Linked DNA regions of Homo sapiens: region 2 is linked to region 1. The links are contacts of gene promoters, found by promoter capture Hi-C in blood cells and fetal thymus (Javierre and others, 2016). All regions are on one chromosome and are shown on one strand. The core of a region is centred on a gene start or on the middle of the fragment in contact, and the rest is flanking DNA. Distances in the headings are between cores, read along the strand shown. Region 1 holds the start of TEX10 (testis expressed 10). Region 2 overlaps ERP44 (endoplasmic reticulum protein 44).

Region 1 (3,333 bases), core at 354-2,853:
CCACACCTCTAGTTACCTTAGTCTTAAAAAACAAAACAAAACAAAAAAAAAAGCTGGGGGTCGGTGGGTGGGTGGGTGGGAGGGAATAAGGCCTAAAAAGAAGGCCATGATACTCACCTGGCCTCTTTTAATACAAAAATGGTTTTCATTAATTAAGCAAGCACACTTTGTGAGCTTTTCCTACAATTTTATTACTAGCTGGTACTAGACACGAAAGTAAATGGTACAGGACATTCAGAAAAATTAACTCCCTTCCTCCTCCACTCCTGTGGGTTCTATTTAGCCATTAACCACCTGATAGATCTTCAACAGTCTACTGTCAACTTCATGCCATATTATCTATCGCTTTGTATTAGTCACATTAATGCTTTCTCTGTTAGGAAAATTAAGAAGGCTGATTGACCTTCCTTGACTTTTCAAACCTAGTAATATTATTACGGGATACAAAGCATTTTCATGCGAAGAACTCTCAAAGTTCTACTAGTAATTGACTTTAACTTATAACAAAGATTTTCATAACACAGCAAATCAAAAAGTCCCACTAAGCCACTTTTACAGTAGCCGGTTTTTAGCAAAAGGTAGGAACGCCAGTCTCAGAGGAGGAGCTCACATCACTAGTCCTTAGGTTTGCGATCCCCAATAGTTTCAAAGCTGAATGTCACACATTCCTACTGTAGGTCTTTTCTAATTCCAACAAAAGGCAGATCCTAGCGTTTTTAGGATTTCAATCGAACTAAATTCCAACTATAAATAGTTTGCCTGCCACCTTCTTACCCTTCCTCATTTCCACCTTCTTTTCCAAAAAAAATCAGAGAGAACGATCGTACTGCACTCGGCCTTTGATAATTTCCTCCCCAAACCCTTAAACTCATGAGTTCCTCCAAACTCCACTGAGGGGCCAACCAGAGGCGACAGACTTCCCAAAAAGCAAATGGCCCAGGCAGGGGCGACCCCAGAAAACTGGTAGTCCCCTTCCGCTCGCTTAACTCTCCCGCCTGGGCGACCAGAGGACGGAACAGGGGACGCCAGCTCATCCCCACTCCGTATTCGGTCCTGCATCCATCCCAGAGGCGAACACACCATGGGTTTTAGGAAACCATCGTTCCTCCTACTCCAAGGGACGCCGGCCAGGACCAGAGTCGGGGAAGTGGGGCCCGATTCACACACTCCGGGCTAAAACTCTCTCGGACCCGAAACCAGGCGAACCCGCCCAGTCACCTGAAGCTCCGCAAACGCCCTAGGGGGTCCCGCCCCCGCAGTGCCGGCCGCACACCCAGGCCCAGCTCGGAGGGACGCCGCGGCCCAGACCCGGGGGACGCAAATCGTGCACGGCCGACCCTGCCCGCTTGGGCCGCGGATCGGGGGGCGACGGCCCCACCACGCTCAGTCCCGCGCCCCGGGAGGACCCGGCCCGACGGGCGACGGCCGCTTACCTGAGGACCCGGCCGCGGCCGGGGCGAGAAGCCCGAGAAGACAAGCGAGGGAGCAGAAGCCCACGGGGCAACAGCGTGCGCCGCCGACCTCAGGCTCTAGCTCCCGGAGCGTGTTTTCAAATAGCCTCGTCCTCACGCGGCCGCGTCTCCTTCCGCCGCCCGGAAATCAGGGCCCCTCCCCCTCCCTGCTGTGCTCACGTGATCGCAGCCCGCAGCCGCGCGCAACCGGGGAGGCGGGAGCGGGAGCGGTAGGCCCCGCCCACAGAGGAGGGTACCCCGCCGGAAGCCCCCTGCTCTGTGGGAACCGGAGGGAGGACAGCGCGAGGTCCCCGGACAAAGCGTGGCGCATAAGTCCGGCCCGTAACTTGGTGGGCAGGCAACTTAGGGGATGTGGGCCTGGTTATAGCTGAGCATGCTTTTCTATTCCTCCCAGACCACAGTTCTTCAGACCTGGAGCCACTTTCAGAGAAGAGTATAAGTTGCACTGAATTGAAAAAGGGAAAAGTTTAGGACTGCAGAAGATGGAATTCCTGGGGACGTTAAACTGGGCTAAGATGGAGCAGATAAGATTTCCTTAATTAGAGCAAGACACACCTAGTATCTAGAGCCTGGAAGTCTTGGTCAAGGATTCTCCCTAACATCTCAGTTTCTCAGCACTAACATTCCTGCTACTAAAATGAAGTGAGAAATTAATTTCTGAAGTTAAGTAAAGAAATAAACTAAAATTCCTAGAAAAGAGGTAAGAAGAATGAGCCTTTGAAAAATGTCTTCACAAAGACTGGCATGATGGCATGGAAGAAAGAGCCCCAGGTAAGGACTTCAGACCTTGATTCAAATTTGTGTCTACACCTCACCAGATAATTAAGACTTAGTAAAGCTAGCGAAGATATTGACCCTCATTATATTGGGTGGGAATTCAAAGGAATGATGTCTAAATCCAGGGAGACCCAAGCACTGGAACTAAAACCATGCCTGTTCCATAATCGGAGATAAAGAGGCAGCGCTAGAAACCCTGACCTCCCTTTGCTGGCAATATGGCCACATCACCACAATCTGCCTGGAATCGACCATAACCATAAATATTTGGGAGTCATTGGCATTATGTGGCATTATATTCTGTTTAAAGCTATGAGACTAGATCAGAAGAGGAAAGATTTATTGCCAACCAGACAAGTCCCTGGAACTCCAAACTTGTATCCAACAGTTTTTTCAATGTTTCCTTCAGATATCCAGTATACATCTCAAGGTCAACTTGTCCAAAACAGAGCTACTGATGATTTTCCCCTTGAAATCTACTCTTCCTACAGCTTATTCATCTCAAATAGTAAGTCTGTCCTTGCAGTTACTCAAGCAGAAACCTTTGGGTTTTTGGTTTGGCCTCTTTGTTCCACACCTCACATCTAATCCATCTGGAGATTGACTCTACCTTTAAAGACATCCTAACTTTCACCAGTTAACACACCTCCCCTGCTACCATTCTGGTCCAAGCCGCTTCTTGATCACTGCAAAAAGCCTGCAAACACATCTTCCTGCTTCCCTTATTGTCCTTCTTCCCCCTACAGTCTGGTATCAGCAGAGCAGCTGTGTGATTATTTTAAGATCTAGGTTAGATCAGATCACTCTTTGGCTCAAAACCCTTTAATGGCTCCCTATTTCACTTCGAGTAAAACCCAGAGTCCTTTCTAGGGCCTTCCCTTAGGCTGTTCTTGCATGGCTATAAAGAAATACCTGAGACTGGGTAATTTACAAAGAAAAGAGGTTTAATTGGCTCATGATTCTGCTGGCTTTACAGGAAGCATTATGTTGGCATCTGCTTGCTTTTGGTGAAGTCTCAGGGAGCTTTCAATCATAGAAGGTGAAGGGGGAACAGGCATGTCACATGTTGAAAGCAGGAGCAAGA
Region 2 (3,333 bases), core at 224-2,723, 340 kb before region 1:
GTAGGAATGTAAACTGCTAAAACCACTTTGGAAAAACTGGTATCCACTAAAATTGAATGTATATATGCCCTATGACTCAGCAATTCTATTCATAGGTATATATATCCAGTAGAAATCTGTGCATATATTCACCAAAGACATAGATAAAGAATGTTCATAGCAGCATTATTCACGGTAGTCAAAATCTGGAAGCAGTCTAAATGTCCACCAATAGTAGAATGGATATATTGTGTTATATTTATATAGGGAATTATATTCAGCATGAAAATGAATGAACTACAGCTTCATGCAATATGAATGAACTCCATAAATATAAAGTTGAGTGAAAGAAGCCAGACACAAAAGACATGATTCCATTTTAGGTTCAAAAACAGGAAAAGCTTCCTATAGTCCTATTGAAAATAAGTATGGTGATTATGAAGATGGTAAGTGGGGGTAATAACTGAGAAGGAAGACAAGGGGTTTGGAAATACTTTATTTCTTGACTTAGCTCAGGGATTGGCAAATTATAGCCATGGGTCAAATCTGACTTGCTGCCTGATTCTGTTAGGTCCACAAGCTAAAATTGGTCTTTAGTTGTTTTTTGTTTTTTGTTTTTCTTTTTTGGAGGGACGGGGTCTCACTCTGTCGCCCAGGCTGGAGTGCAGTGGTGGATCCTGGCTCACTGCAACCTCTGCCTCCTGGATTCAAGTGATTCTCCTGCCTCAGCCTCCCGAGTAGCTGGGATTACAGGCGCCTGCCACCACGCCTGGCTAATTTTGCATTTTTAGTAGAGACGGGGGTTTCACCATGTTAGTTAGCCAGGCTGGTCTCGAACTCCCGACCTCAGGTGACCCACCCACCTTGGCCTCCCAAAGTGCTGGGATTACAGGCGTGAGCCATGGCACAAGGCCCTGGTCTTTACATTTTTAAATAATTGGGAAAAAAATTTAATATTTCACAGCATGTGAAAATTATTTGTCCAGAAAGAGCTTTATTGAAACACAGCCACGCTCATTTGTTTACATATTGTCTAAGGTTACTTTTGTGCTACAACTGCAAAGCTGAGTAGCTGCCACAGAGATTATATGAACTGCAAAGGCTAACATACTTACTATCTGACCCTTTGTTGAAAAAAATTGTCCACCCTCTCTCTTAGTTTGGGCTGCTATATTAAAGTACCATAAACTGGGTGGCTTACAAATTAACAGAAATTCATTTCTCATCATTCTGGAGGCTGGAAATCCAAAATCAGGGTGCCAGCATGGTCAGTTCTAGTGAGAGCTGTCTTCTAGGCTGCAGACTGCCTACTTCTCATTGTATCCTCACATGGCAGAAAGAGAGCTACATAACTCTCTGAGGTCTCTTTTATGAGTTCACTAATCCCATTCATGAGGACTCCATCTCATGAATGGAGGATTCATTCCCTAATACTGTCACATTGGGGATTAGGATTTCAACATATGAATATTAGGACACACAAATATTTGGTCCATACCACTCTAAGTAGTGATTATATGGGTATGTTTACTCTGTGATAATTTTGGGGGACCAGATATTTAAACTGTGATTTATACACTTACAATTCTTTGAAGTGTATATGCATACACAAAGTTTTTAAAAACTGTACCTAATACAAAGTTTTTAAAAACTTGCATTCTTAGGCCATTGGTTTTAAAAACAAAAGACCTGGAATGAAAGATATGTCTTACATAAAGTAAAGAAAGGAGAGAGGTCCTTACAGACATAACTCTTTGTACTTGTTCCTCCAGCCTCTTAGGTTTTTAAGTTTTATTTTGGTGGGAGTTGTAAGAATTTCGATGGGCTTGATTTCAGATGCATGGGATGACTGAGGTCGGTTACCTATCACTGCTACCTGCTTTCATTATTTATAATGGAAAAGACAACATTAACTGCTTTACAAAAAACAGAAAAATCTTCTAGTGGCAAAGGATTATTCATTGTATAGAAATAATTGTAACTAAAATCTGCAAAGCATTGCTCCTAAAGCAGCAGTCCCCCACCTTTTTGGCACCAGGGACTGGTTTCATGGAAGACAATTTTTCCACTGATCAGGGTGGGGGATATGATTTCGGGATGAAACTGTTCCACCTCAGATCATCAGGCATTAGTTAGATTCTCATAAGGAGAATGCACCCTAGATCCCTCACATGCACAGTTCACAACAGGGTTCACATTCGTATGACAATCTAATGCTGCCACTGATCTGACAGGAGGCAGAGCTCAGGCCGTAATGCTCTCTCGCTGGGCAGCCCTCTTCCTAGCAGGCCGTGGACTGATACAGGTCTGCGGCCCAGGGTATGGGGACCCTTGTTCTAAAGGACATCCACCTAAACAGGGATCCTCAACCAACAGATGGGTATCAGAATCACCTGAAAGGCATTTTCAAACTCATTTTGAAGGCTGTAGTGAACTACTACTATTACTGGAAATGTAACAGAGGGGTTCTGGGATAGCAAAGGTGAAGAATCACTGGTGTATATTACAGAAACAGCTATGATATAGTTATGTTCACTATATGATTCTTACAATTCATAACTCTGTTAACATAGTAAGACAGGTGGAGGAAGCTTGTGGTTTCAGACATTTGAATTTAAAGTAACAATGCACAGTAGAAAGCCCATACCTCTCCATTTTCAAATGTTATTTCTCGGACAAGAGGAACACATTTATCTTGAATCCAATTGTAAGTCACATCAAAATTTGTCATAGCTCCCAAGTACACCATATCCGGAGCAGAATGCTATTACAAAACAGAAAAAAAAAATTAAATCTAACCTGTGCTGGCAAAAGTATATTCTTATTTTTTTTCTTTATATTTTTTAAAGCAAGGTCTCACTCTGTCACCCAGGCTGGAGTACAGTGACATGATCATGGCTCACTGCAGCCTTGACCTCCTGGGCTCAAGCAATTCTCTTACCTCAGCCTCCAGAGTAGCTGGGACTACAGGTACATGCCACCACGCCAAGCTAATTATTTTATTTTATGCAGAGATGGGGTCTTGTTATGTTGCCCAGGCTAAAAAGTACATTCTTATATCCATCCATGAACCCAGAAAATCTACTGGTAATACAAAAGAAACATAGATCATGGAACTTCCAAGAAAGAGGGCCATGGGTGGCAAAAAGCAGATAATTCTGTGATTACCAGGGAGCTAATAATCTAACCTGTGACACCCAAGCCTATTGCTTTTTCTTGGATTTAGGTCAATTAACTCTTTATCAGTATCTTCACCAAAGGCAGGAAGGCATTGTGAAAAGAATTCTCCAAATGAATTAATTTAGCTATTCCTAAGAGCTGAAAATTTTAGAAATTTCTTCTTTTAGAAGAAAA

Evidence for each region. The method cuts DNA at HindIII sites, captures the fragments that hold promoters and counts their contacts. A CHiCAGO score of 5 or more calls a contact.
Region 2: a contact is called between a fragment that was not itself captured here and the fragment with the promoter of TEX10 in region 1, in 1 of 17 cell types (naive B cells). The highest score is 5.4, in naive B cells.

Annotation. Positions count from the first base shown.
Region 1 is chr9:100,351,339-100,354,671 of GRCh38, forward strand. TEX10 (testis expressed 10) reads right to left here and starts at 1,604. Exons shown (of 15, transcript NM_017746.4): 1 at 1,434-1,604. It overlaps LOC105376177 (a long non-coding RNA gene), which reads left to right and starts at 1,712. Exons shown (of 4, transcript NR_188642.1): 1 at 1,712-2,243; 2 at 2,659-2,757. RefSeq lists enhancers at 843-892, 1,297-1,931 and a silencer at 1,233-1,782. The HindIII fragment of the contact is 13,255 bases long and covers 1-3,333 here.
Region 2 is chr9:100,013,696-100,017,028 of GRCh38, forward strand. ERP44 (endoplasmic reticulum protein 44) reads right to left here. Exons shown (of 12, transcript NM_015051.3): 8 at 2,627-2,743. It overlaps LOC105376176 (a long non-coding RNA gene), which reads left to right and starts at 2,909. Exons shown (of 3, transcript XR_001746547.2): 1 at 2,909-2,949. The HindIII fragment of the contact is 2,190 bases long and covers 379-2,568 here.